Regions from separate parts of the Homo sapiens genome. Here all the other regions are linked to region 1. Evidence: promoter capture Hi-C in 16 types of primary human blood cells and fetal thymus (Javierre and others, 2016). All regions are on one chromosome and are shown on one strand. Each heading gives the region's core, a stretch centred on a gene start or on the middle of the fragment in contact. The rest is flanking DNA. Distances are from core to core; before and after follow the strand shown.

Region 1 (3,804 bases), core at 338-2,837:
ACTTAAGCACACAGACGGCAGGCACGCACACACAGCCTGCTTGCGGCTGGCCTCTTGGGTCTGAGGCCCACACTGCCCTTGTCACGCCACCTCCCTCCCCACATGTGTTTTCTGACCAGTTTGCCTCCCAGCTCAGCAGCCCAGACAGGCTCCTACAAACAACGTCACAAAAGAATCCTGTGGAGAATGTTGCAAACACACAACCTTCCCCTCGCTTGGCTGCCCATGATCCCATAAACACAACTGGCGCATTCCACCTCGAGCCCCTCACACCAGTGCCAACTGACCCACAGGCCCCTGAGACATACCCCGGGGTTCCTCGCTCCTCTCATGATCTTTGGGATCTGAGTTCTAGACGCGCAGCCCCCATGCAACGCGCTCATCACAGACACGCAAACCCATCCATCGCCCTCTTCACCACTGGACCACACCTCAGCAGGGCCACAGAAATGGGACCCAGACGTGACGCCTTCTGACTCAAAGGCCCACAACCGCCCCCTCCAAAAGGGCACATACACTGCATCCTGGCACCCTCCGCAACACATACAGCATGCCAGCTCTGCAGAAAACAGTTCATAAACAGGTCATAGGTGCAGCACAAGACACACATGCGAGAAAACACATGCTGTAGAAAACATACAGCCCCACATCGAACAAACTCTGCACCCAGCATGCTGTGCCCTGCTCAGAATACCCATCTGTCACCCAAAGCCACAGGGCTCGTCTTGTAACTCTGCCCCACAACACTGGACACCCTTCCTGGCTTTCTATCTCCATGGCCCAGGGAGGGCCCTACCCAGACCCCTGGCTGCCAGCAAACGGTGGTGCCCAGGAGAGGTTTACCTTGCCCCACCACACAGCACAAGACACACGATCTCCAAGACTCACAGCCACAACCCTGCCCCGACGGCGCGGCGGTTCCGGGGCCCCAGCTCGCCCTGCGCACCCCGCACACCCCAACTCTGGGGCGCTCGGCGGCCCACCCCTCCCCCTCTCTGCCTGGCTCCTACGCCATCACCCTCCCAGCAGCTTGCAGCGCTTGCCCGGGCTCACACCCGCCCCACCCCACCCCCAATCTGCCCCACGGGGGGAGGGGGCCATTAGGCTGCAGAATTAACCCTTCAAAGAGGGAGTGAGCACCTCCCCTTCCACGGCCCCAGGCGATCGCGTCCCACGGCCGCCCCTCGCTCGGACGCCATACCAGGGCCCCCTTAGTCGCCCCCCAGCGTCGTGCGCGCCCGGGGGCGGGGCCAGGCTCAGCCCCCGACCCCTGCGCCCCCAGGTCAACCCCAAAGGAGAGCGGTCTGGGCGCGGGGCGCGGTCGGGGCTCCCGCAGCGCCGGGCAGCGGAGAGGGGGCCTGGCAGTTGGCTCCGGTCCGCCCTGGCCCTGCCCAGTTCGCCCCAGGGCCCACCTGACTGCGATGGCGCCGCGTCCGCCAGGCCCGGCTCATCACCGTGGCCGCCCCCGGCCGCTCCGGTTTTGCCCGCCTCCAGCTCCGGCTCCGGCTCCAGCTCCGGCCCTGGCCCCCCCAGCGCCTGGCCCCGGCCCGGCCCCGCTGCCGCCGCCGCCGCCGCCGCTGACATCATCGGCTCCCCCCGCCCCGGTCCTACCCCCACCCCCACCCCCGGAAACAGTCCCCCCCCAGCGCCGCCGCCGCCGCCGCCGAGAGGAGGCCGGCGCAGCGCAGCCGACACCGACACAAAGCTCCGAGCGCCCGACGGCCTTCCCCAGGACTGACCCCCGCGGCATGACACTGCGCCGCGCTGGGCCACCGGGCGGGTGGACACCGAGCGGGGCGCGGGCCGGGCTGCAGCATCCCGGCAGGGGCGCAAGACCACCGACCCCCAGGGAAAGGGCTCCCTCCGCCCTTCCTCCTGCACGCCCTTCACTCAGCGGTGCACACTGCCTGAAAGCATAACACACAGGCTCTCAGGGTGCAGACATGACATGGCAGACTCATAATCAGGCCCGGTGGGACTCACAGACCCAGGGTCGGCACACTCAAAGAGGGCCAGCCCTGGACACACACACACACCCTCTCCAGGAATGCGCAGGAAAGCTCAGCAGGCCGCGGAAAAAGAAGGCCCTGGCCCTGCATACGGGGCACACACGAACGACCACCAGCGCAAATGAACACATGAAGCTGGCTGGGTACTTTGTCCCCACCAGCAGATAGATCCACATCTGTATACTTGAACATAAATGCAGAGGCCTTGGTGTCGGCCTCTGGGGACAGCATCAACAAAACACCAGGTGGAAGCACACACAGAAAAAACACATTCCTGAAACTCCACAGGGACAATCCCAAGAACTCCTCCCTGGTGCTGGAAAATTAAAAACTAAGGAGATGGAGGAGCCAGGGTTCACAGCTCCTTGCCTTAAAACCTCTCTGAGGCTGGGCGCGGTGGCTCACGCCTGTAATCCCAGCACTTTGGGAGGCCGAGGTGGGCGGATCACGAGGTCAGGAGATCGAGACCATCCTGGCTAACACGGTGAAACCCTGTCTCTACTAAAAATACAAAAAAATTAGCCGGGCGTGGTGGCGGGCGCCTGTGGTCCCAGCTACTCGGGAGGCTGAGGCAGGAGAATGGCGTGAACCTGGGAGGCGGAGCTTGCAGTGAGCCGAGATCTCGCCACTGCACTCCAGCCTGGGCGACAGAGACAGACTCCGTCTCAAAAAAAAAACAACAACAAAAAAACCTCTCTGAAACCATGCAAGATATAAATAAACAAATTAATGTAAAGCCACAGAGCTAGCCATAAAAAGAATAAAAGAATCAGACAAACTTTGGAGTCATGGAGACATAAATAGAAAAGAAGCAGAGTTGGGCTGGGCACGGTGGCTCATGCCTGTAATTCCACCACTTTGGGAGGCGGGGGGTGGTGGGGTGGATCACTTGAGGTAAGGAGTTCAAGACCAGCATGGCCAACATGGAGAAACCCCATCTCTACGAAAAATAAAAAATTAGCGGGGTGTGGTGGCACATGCCTGTAATCCCAGGTACTTGGGAGGATGAGGTAGGAGAATTGCTTGAACCCAGGAGGTGGAGGTTGCGGTGAGCCGAGATTGCACGCACCACTGCACTCCAGCCTGGGCAAGAAGAGCAAAACTCCGTCCCAAAAAAAAAAAAAAAAATTAGCCAGGTGTAGTGGCACATTCTTGTAATCCCAGCTACTTGGGAGGCTGAGGCAGGAGAATCGCTTGAATCTGGGAGGTGGAGGTTGCAGTGAGATGAGATCACACCATTGCACTCCAGCCTGGATAACAAGAGTGGAAACTTCGTCGCAAACAAAAAAAGAAAGAAAGAAAGAAAAGAAGCAGAGTTGGACTCAGCGGGAAAATAGGCGTGCTACCACCTCAGGAGAGTTCCAGGGAAGAACCCCACCCCCACTCCAACCATGTCACAATGGCTGGAGCTCTGAGGGGCCCAGGCTCCCTGAGCCAGGAGGAGAGGAGAAAGTCCAAGGAAAGATGGTGAGTGTGGGGGCCAGGGGCCTAGTACTCCCTCCCTATAGCTCCTGGTTGCTCCATTTCCCCTCCTTTCCTAAAACTTAGCTGTCTCAGAGATACCCACAAATAGAATTCATAATGGTGTACCCAGATGTCTCTGGAACCTGTGGCATCATACAGATGCATAGCATCTGAGGCTTCCTCCCCTTCCTCAATCCGAGAGAGCATCCTGGGTCCTTTTTCTCCTCCCAGGAACAACTTACCCAGGGAAACGATGCTCCAGGACTGCTCACTCCTTGCTTCCTGCTCCAGGCCCACATTATAACATCTCACTCATCTTTTAGGCCCTTTC
Region 2 (4,039 bases), core at 182-2,681, 69 kb after region 1:
CTGCAGCCTCAACCTCCCAGGCTCAGGTGATCCTCCCATCTCAACCTCCTGAGTAGCTGGGACTACAGGCATGCACCACCATGCCCAGCTCTATGGATGCTTTTTCTTGACTCTCTTTAAGTATATTAGGTAGTACTCTTTGTATCCTGAATTATCTCTGTTTCCTCCAATGTCAAATTTTGTTTGTTAATTTTGGTCTTTCTTTCTTTTTTTTTTTTTTTGAGATAGGGTCTTGCTGTGTTGCCCAGGCTGGAGTGTGGTGGCGTGATCTCAGCTCTCTGCAACCTCTGTCTCCTGGGTTCAAGCAATTCTCTGCCTCAGCTTCCCGAGTAGCTGGGAACTACAGGCGCCTGCCACCACGTCCGGCTAATTTTTTTGTATTTTTATTAGAGACAGGGTTTCACCATCTTGGCCAGGCAGGTCTCGATCTCCTGACCTCGTGATCCACCCGCCTCAGCCTCCCAAAGTGCTGCGATTACAGGCGTGAACCATCGCGCCCAGCCAATTTTGGTCCTTCCTTCCTTCCTTCCTTCCTTCCTTCCTTCCTTCCTTCCTTCCCTCCTTCCCTCCCTCCCTCCCTCCCTCCTTTCTTTCTTTCTTCCTTTCTTTCTTTCTTTTTGAGACAAGGTCTGTTGCCCAGGCTGGAGTGTAGTGGTGCAATCACAGCTCACTGCAGCCTCAAACTCCTGGGCTCAAACAATCCTCCTACCTCGGCCTCCTGAGTAGCTGGGACTACAGGCGTGGGCTAATTTTTTAAAACTTTTCTGTAGAGATGGGGTCTTGCTCTTGCCCAGGCTGATCTTGAACTCCTGGCCCCCAGCCTTGGCCTTCTGGGATTACAGGCGTAAGCCACCTGCCGGACCAATTTTGGTGTTTCTTTTGCATGCTGCTGGTCCTCCTCAGATGCTTGGCAATCATTGGTAATGATGGGCTTCAGAACGTGCTACCGGCACAGTGAGTGTTTTAAGCTGAAGGAATTTGAGAAAACCGCAGAAGCCGAAGGATCTTTCTTACCTTCTCCTGCCCTTCTTCCCTGAACCAGGTCATACAACCTGGAACTCCCTGCCCTTTTCCTGAAGAAGCAAATAACAGCCTCCTGCGAGAGGCGCCCTCCCTGCACCTGGGGGAAAGGAGGGTCCTTATCTCTGAAGACACAGGGACACAGAAGAATCTGAACCAACAGGCCTTCCTGAGTTCCCCACCTCCCCGCAGGAGGTGCCCGCACACGCATAGCCCCGTCGCTCCCGCGGCCGCACGCAACGGACCTCGCCCTGGTGGTGCACGCCCGGGCTGGGCGCTCAGAGGTCGGGTGGGCGCCCACTCCGTTCGCTGCGCGCACAGCGCCCGGCGAGAGGCTCGGAGTTTGATCACACACAGCGTCCGGCTTCCTGTCCCCAGCGCCCCCTCCCGCCCCGTTTCCCTTGCCCCTCCCTCTCCCCGGCCCGATCCGCCCGCCGGCTCCCCCTCCCCCGATCCCTCGGGTCCCGGGATGGGGGGGCGGTGAGGCAGGCACAGCCCCCCGCCCCCATGGCCGCCCGTCGGAGCCAGAGGCGGAGGGGGCGCCGGGGGGAGCCGGGCACCGCCCTGCTGGTCCCGCTCGCGCTGGGCCTGGGCCTGGCGCTGGCCTGCCTCGGCCTCCTGCTGGCCGTGGTCAGTTTGGGGAGCCGGGCATCGCTGTCCGCCCAGGTGAGGCCCCGCTGCGCACCCCTTCTTGGGCACATCAGGAGCTGAGACTGCAGAGGGGCCGCTGGGGGCCGCGTGGGCTGAAGGCAAGGGGAAGGGAGGATGGGTGGAGGGTGAGATGTCAGGTGGAGCGGCACAGGGTGACGCTCCCTCCTTCCCAGCAGGAGCCTGCCCAGGAGGAGCTGGTGGCAGAGGAGGACCAGGACCCGTCGGTGAGTGGGCGTGGGCGCGGTCTGCAGGCTGCTGGGGCATGGGAAGTGTGCACAGCCGAGGCTGCAGGTGTGTGCAGCTGTGCCAGCCGTACTCGAGGTGTGTGCAGGGTGTGTGTGAACACAGTGCGTGCATGGGTGCGTGTCTGCAGGGGTGTGTGTGCGTGGTGACAACTCTGTGTGAGGGGTTTGTGCTGGGGTTGTGCCACCTGAGTCTGAGGTGTTTATTGGCTGGGGGTGACGTGGTTGTATAAGATATGTGAGTCTGCGTGGAAGAGGGGTGCGGTTGTGTACAGGGTGTGTATCCTCTGTGCGTGGTGACTGGGTGCGGGCATGTGTGCAATGTGCCAATTGAATGCAGGGTCTGCGTTGGTTGTGTGTGTGGGTGGGAAAGTGTAGCTGGTCTAGAGGAAAGGGTGAGGACTGGGGCCTGACTCCCAGCTTCACCTTTGCCCGGGGCCCCAGCTGTAGTTGGCTGAGGGGCTTAATCTGTCCCTGACTTCTGTGTCTATTGCTGGCTGGTGGCTCTCCTGACAGGCCCCGTATGTCTCACTTTATATCTCTGGGAGTCTGTGGTTGAACCCTGCCCTAATTCCCCTAGGAACTGAATCCCCAGACAGAAGAAAGCCAGGATCCTGCGCCTTTCCTGAACCGACTAGTTCGGCCTCGCAGAAGTGGTGAGCATCCCTCTATCCCAACCTCAGGAAGCGGGCAGAGCAAAAACCATTATCCACAGGGAGAAACTGAGGCACGGAGGGTGAAAGGAGTTCAGAGTCATGCAGCTAACCAGCCAAGACTCAAACCTAGGGATTCTCGCCCTCCTCTGAAGCTCCTTCTGTCATATGGATGTGCTCCTTCAGACCCTACCCCAAACAGGAAGGCAGGGTGGCCATGAGTTAGAAGAACTACTGGGATCCTGATGGAGACTAGGCCTGGCAGTCAGAGGCCTGGGCCCCGGTAGGCAAAGAGACTTAGGAATGGGATGATGGGGTGGCCGGATGACCACGTGTCCAAGTCGGCATGCAGTTGTCCTGGCCCCCACCTGTTATCTCGGTGTGATTAATAGCAGCTTCCCGTTTTGCTCTCAGCAGTATCCCAGTGTGGATGACAAATTATAGTCACTCTACTTACTGAGGAAGATGAGGCCTGAGATTCTAAGGCCAGGAGTCTGGACAAGAATAAGGATGCCAGGGTTCCTGAGAGGGGAATGGGGCTGGGAGAGTTGCTCTGGGACCCCCACTAGGGCCCGCTTTGCTCATCTGTCTTTCCTTGATCCTCAGCACCTAAAGGCCGGAAAACACGGGCTCGAAGAGCGATCGCAGCCCATTATGAAGGTGGGTGATGGGTGAGCCATACCCAGGAGGAGAGGGGCAGGTGGCAGAGGGTCAGGGCAGGTCTCACCAGCCTTTTCCTGTACTTTACAGTTCATCCACGACCTGGACAGGACGGAGCGCAGGCAGGTGAGACCCCATCCCCCGACACAGCACTGGCCTCCTGGGAAAAGGGCCCTTGAAAACCTTTGACCTCCCACTCCCTTCCCGGCCATCAGTCTCAGAACCACAGAAGCCAGTTCATGAAGGTCTTGGTTCTCTCTGTGACCCAGGCGTGGGACCCCATGAAAGACCCCTACTCTTCCCCAGAACTCTGCCCAGTTCCCCCAGCAAATCACTGTCCCAGCTCTCTCCTTCAGCCCTCATTCTTCTCCAAGAAGCACTTTTCATTCTTTTTTCTTCTGTCTCCTCCATATTCCACGTTCTGATGATCTTTTTCTCTAAATGCTGCTAGTGTCTGCTCATCTTTTCCATTTCTACCCCACCCTCTACCTCAGCACCGTGACCTCAGAACCTCAAATCCAGCCTCTTGCTGCTTCCCCACTCCACACCCTCCCTACCCCTCCACTCCATCTGACCTGTGCTGCCATGCTGAGCCCCTAAACTTCACTTTTCTTGTGGTATTGGCTCTCTACATGGCTTCCAGTCTCTTCGTGGTCTGGTCTCAACCTAATTTCCCTGCACTCTTATGCTGTCTTCATGTTTGCTGCGCTGACACCCCTGCTCCCGGTGTGCCTCTTCTGGACTTTGCACATACCATCCCCCTCACCAGAATGTCTTTCCACTGTGAGAGGCAGGGAGGCATGAGGAGTGCTC
Region 3 (3,717 bases), core at 1,200-3,699, 92 kb before region 1:
GCTGAGGCAGGAGAATCGCTTGAACCTGGGAGGCAGAGGTTGCGGTGAGCCGAGATCACACCATCGCACTCCAGCCTGGGCAAAAAGAGCGAACTCCGTCTCAAAAAAAAAAAAAAGAAGAAGAAGAAGAAGTAATGAGGCCACAGAGAGAGCAGGAGCTGTGTCATGGAGGGCTTTGCAAGGCGTGTTAAGCTAACACGTAGAGCACTTGACCTGTGCAGGACACTGCACTGTGCACTTTACATGGGCGCTTATGCAGATTCGCTCATTTAATGCTCTCAACCACTGGATGAGGTAATTATTATTAGTAGTATTTTATTTTGAGACAGTCTTGCTCTGTCACCCTAGCTGGAGTGCAGTGGTGGGATCTTGGCTCACTGCAACCTCCGCCTCCTGGGTTCAAGCAATTCTCCTGTTTCAGCCTCCCGAGTAGCTGGGATTACAGGCGCCTGCCACCACGCCTGGCTAATTTTTGTATTTTTAGTAGAGATGGGGTTTCACCATGTTGGCCAGGCTGGTTTCGAACTCCTGACCTCAAATGATCCACCTGCCTTGGCCTCCCAAAGTGTTGGGATTACAGGCATGAGCCACCGTGCCCGGCCTGGATGAGGTAATTATTATCTCCATGTTACTGATGGGCAGTTGAGGCACTGAGAGTTTAAGTGACTTGCCTAAAGTCACATGGTAAGTGGAGGAGTTGGGATTTGAGCCAGTCAGTTTGACTTCAGAGCTGTTCCCTAAGCTGCTACACTCTACCACTAAAGCTTAGTCTTTACTCTGAAGGCATTTGGGAGCCAGGGAAGCCTATTAGGCAGGGGAGTTACAAGCCACTCTCACCATGACGGCACTCTGATGTGGCGCAAGAATGGATTAGAGGGATGATGCTGAGGCTGGGAGACCAGGTAGGCAACAGTGGCTGTGAAGCAGAAGGGAGATGAAGAGGTCTGGATGAGGGTAGAGGCGGTGGGGCTGCAGAGGAGTGGAAATTTCCCAGAGGGGCTTGGGAGGCTGCTCTGACAGGCCTGGATGTGGAGTGAAAGCAGTGTACAGGATGACGCTCCTGTTAGTCCCCCCAGGTAGAGCCAGGGCCCTCCTCTCTTGCTCCTTGAGCCCTGACCTGTTTGTCATGGGATCCAGGTCTGCCTCCCTCACTGAATTACAATGGGGGGACAGGGAGAGTCCCACCCTGGGCCCAGCACAGACTACATACAGAGCGGAGCTCCTCTTTATTCCTGCTCCCATATTACCTATCTGACTCAGGCCACAAGCCCAGCCACCCTTTCCTCTTGTCTCCACAGGCCGGGCCTTCGGAAGCATGTTGTGTGAGGGATGTCACAGAACCAGGCGCCCTGAGGATGGAGACTGGTGACCCCATCACAGTCATCGAGGGCAGGTGACAGTCCCATACCTCCCAAGCACCCTCAGGAGGAGGATACCCTCCCAGCCTAATTCCTGATCCCTTCTCTGCTTCTCTCCAGCTCCTTGAACCCTGATCTTCTGTCTCATCTCCTCTCCCCACTGGGTCCTGAAAGCTCCAGCATGGTCCTGGCCTCCCTGCTGGAGCCACTGCTGGCCCATAGAGCCTTATTGCATTAGGGAAAAGGCTTCCCTTCCTCCAGGCAGATGCGGCTCCAAGGCACATAGCCTAGTGAGCTGACTGTGGGCCAGGGCCCAGCCCTAACTCTTGCCCTTATTCCCATCCTATTTACCAGCTCCTCTTTCCACAGCCCCGACTCCACAATCTGGAAGGGCCAGAATGGTCGCACCTTCAAAGTGGGCAGCTTCCCAGCCTCGGCAGTGACGCTGGCAGATGCGGGGGGCTTGCCAGCCACCCGTCCAGTCCACAGAGGCACCCCTGCCCGGGGAGATCAACACCCAGGAAGCATAGATGGGTGAGGACCTGAAAGGGTGAGGGCAGGGGTTGGCTGGGAGAACTGATGAGGTCCAGGAGCTTCTCTGGAAGAGAAGCCTGGGGACAGGACCAGAGTGAAGCTGCAGCCTCCACCCTGGGCCCTGGGTCTCCTGGGTTCCCCTGTGAGTTTTTTTGGGAGGGTATATTGATCTGTGGGGTGGGGAGAGTTGGTGTGGAGGATGAACTGGATCCCTCTCCGACAGAGACAGAAAGAAGGCAAATCTTTGGGATGCGCCCCCAGCACGGGGCCAGAGGAGGAACATGCCCCTGGAGAGGATGAAAGGTGGGTGTGGTGGACTCCAGAGTCTCTGAGGAGATCAAGACCAGTCCTTCAATTCCGACCCCCTGCCCTAAATCCATGCCTTTGCATCTATTATTTCCTTCCTCTGAATTCTGTCTGCTGGCATCCTAGCTATACTGTGCAATCTATTTTTTTTTTTTTTTTTTGAGACAGAGTTTCACTCTTTTTGCCCAGGCTGGAGTGCAGTAGCGTGATCTTGGCTCACCGCAACCTCCACCTCCCGGGTTCAAGCGATTCTCCTGCCTCAGCCTCCCGAGTAGCTGGGACTACAGGCATGTGCCACCACACCCGGCTAATTTTGTATTTTTAGTAGAGATGAGGTTTCACCCTGTTGCCCAGGCTGGCCTTGAACTCCCCACCTCGGGTGATCTGCCTGCCTCGGCCTCTCAAAGTGCTGGGATTACAGGCGTGAGACACTGCGTCCGGCCCTATACTGTGGAATCTTAAAAGATAGGAAGCCCTCCTGCCTTCCCTTCTGAAGAGCACCTCCACACTCTGGGCCCTGAGCTCTGAGTTCTCTGGGCCCTCCGCCTAGGCCTTGGTGTCCACTTGCCCATCTGTCTTATTGTCCCACCTGACACATGAACCACCCAGGGACAGGGCTGGCTAGCTCATCTGCAAATGCTTGCAAAACCATCCAGCTCAGCACAGATGAAGACAGAGAGTGGGGCCAGGCATGGTGGCTCAAGCCTGTAATCCCAGCACTTTGGGAGCCCAGCGTGGGTGGATGGCTTGAGTCCAGGAGTTTGAGACCAGCCTGGGCAATGTGCCGAAACCCCTTCTCTACAAAAATACAAAAATTAGCCAGTCGTAATGGCAGGCACCTATAGTCCCAGCTACTCGGGAGGCTGAGGTGGGAGGATCGCTTGAGCCCGGGAGGCGGAGGCTGCAGCCAGCCGAGTTCAAGTTGTTTCCTTCTCAACTGTGCAGGCATTTCCAGGAGTCTGGAGTCAGTTCTGTCCCTCGGTCCTCGTCCCACAGGGGGTGGTTCAAGCCCCCCTGAAATTCGACAAGCCAGAGCTGTGCCCCAGGGACCTCCAGGCCTGCCTCCACGCCCACCTTTATCCTCTAGCTCTCCTCAGCCCAGCCAGCCCTCTAGGGAGAGGCTTCCCTGGCCCAAAAGAAAACCCCCACACAATCACCCCATGGGAATGCCTGGAGCCCGTAAAGCCGCTGCCCTCTCTGGAGGCCTCTTGTCCGATCCTGAGTTGCAGAGGAAGATTATGGAGGTGAGGTCTCACTGAAATGGCCTGGTGTCCAGAAGGGGCTACAGGCAGGGGCAGGGGCCTGAGTGAGGCTTTGTCTGTCACAGGTGGAGCTGAGTGTGCATGGGGTCACCCACCAGGAGTGCCAGACAGCACTAGGAGCCACTGGGGGAGATGTGGTTTCTGCCATCCGGAACCTCAAGGTAAAGCCAGCCCCTTCTCTTGGGGTCCCTCCTCTCCTGCCCCTGCCGCCTGGCAGTCAGCTGCAACCCACCCTCCTGCTTCCACAGGTAGATCAG

What was found. The method cuts DNA at HindIII sites, captures the fragments that hold promoters and counts their contacts. A CHiCAGO score of 5 or more calls a contact.
Region 2: the fragment with the promoter of TNFSF12 here is called in contact with the fragment with the promoter of ZBTB4 in region 1 in 13 of 17 cell types (total CD8 T cells, naive CD4 T cells, naive B cells and 10 more); the score reaches 9.5 in total CD8 T cells.
Region 3: a contact is called between a fragment that was not itself captured here and the fragment with the promoter of ZBTB4 in region 1, in 1 of 17 cell types (naive B cells). The highest score is 5.9, in naive B cells.

Annotation. Positions count from the first base shown.
Region 1 is chr17:7,478,044-7,481,847 of GRCh38, forward strand. It overlaps ZBTB4 (zinc finger and BTB domain containing 4), which reads right to left and starts at 1,588. Exons shown (of 4, transcript NM_001128833.2): 1 at 1,413-1,588. It overlaps SLC35G6 (solute carrier family 35 member G6), which reads left to right and starts at 3,403. Exons shown (of 2, transcript NM_001102614.2): 1 at 3,403-3,476. The coding sequence starts at 3,474. RefSeq lists silencers at 895-944, 1,205-1,664, 1,685-1,944. The HindIII fragment of the contact is 9,560 bases long and covers 1-3,804 here.
Region 2 is chr17:7,547,627-7,551,665 of GRCh38, forward strand. TNFSF12 (TNF superfamily member 12) reads left to right here and starts at 1,432. Exons shown (of 7, transcript NM_003809.3): 1 at 1,432-1,686; 2 at 1,848-1,895; 3 at 2,494-2,569; 4 at 3,173-3,226; 5 at 3,317-3,352. The coding sequence starts at 1,528. It overlaps TNFSF12-TNFSF13 (TNFSF12-TNFSF13 readthrough), which reads left to right and starts at 1,432. Exons shown (of 11, transcript NM_172089.4): 1 at 1,432-1,686; 2 at 1,848-1,895; 3 at 2,494-2,569; 4 at 3,173-3,226; 5 at 3,317-3,352. The coding sequence starts at 1,528. RefSeq lists silencers at 1,327-1,516, 1,547-1,626. The HindIII fragment of the contact is 9,939 bases long and covers 1-4,039 here.
Region 3 is chr17:7,385,263-7,388,979 of GRCh38, forward strand. It overlaps TNK1 (tyrosine kinase non receptor 1), which reads left to right. Exons shown (of 13, transcript NM_003985.6): 8 at 1,299-1,393; 9 at 1,728-1,892; 10 at 2,116-2,195; 11 at 3,144-3,442; 12 at 3,526-3,621; 13 at 3,709-3,717. Among named protein-coding and RNA genes, the nearest start is that of TNK1, 6.0 kb to the left of the region's middle. The HindIII fragment of the contact is 3,374 bases long and covers 763-3,717 here.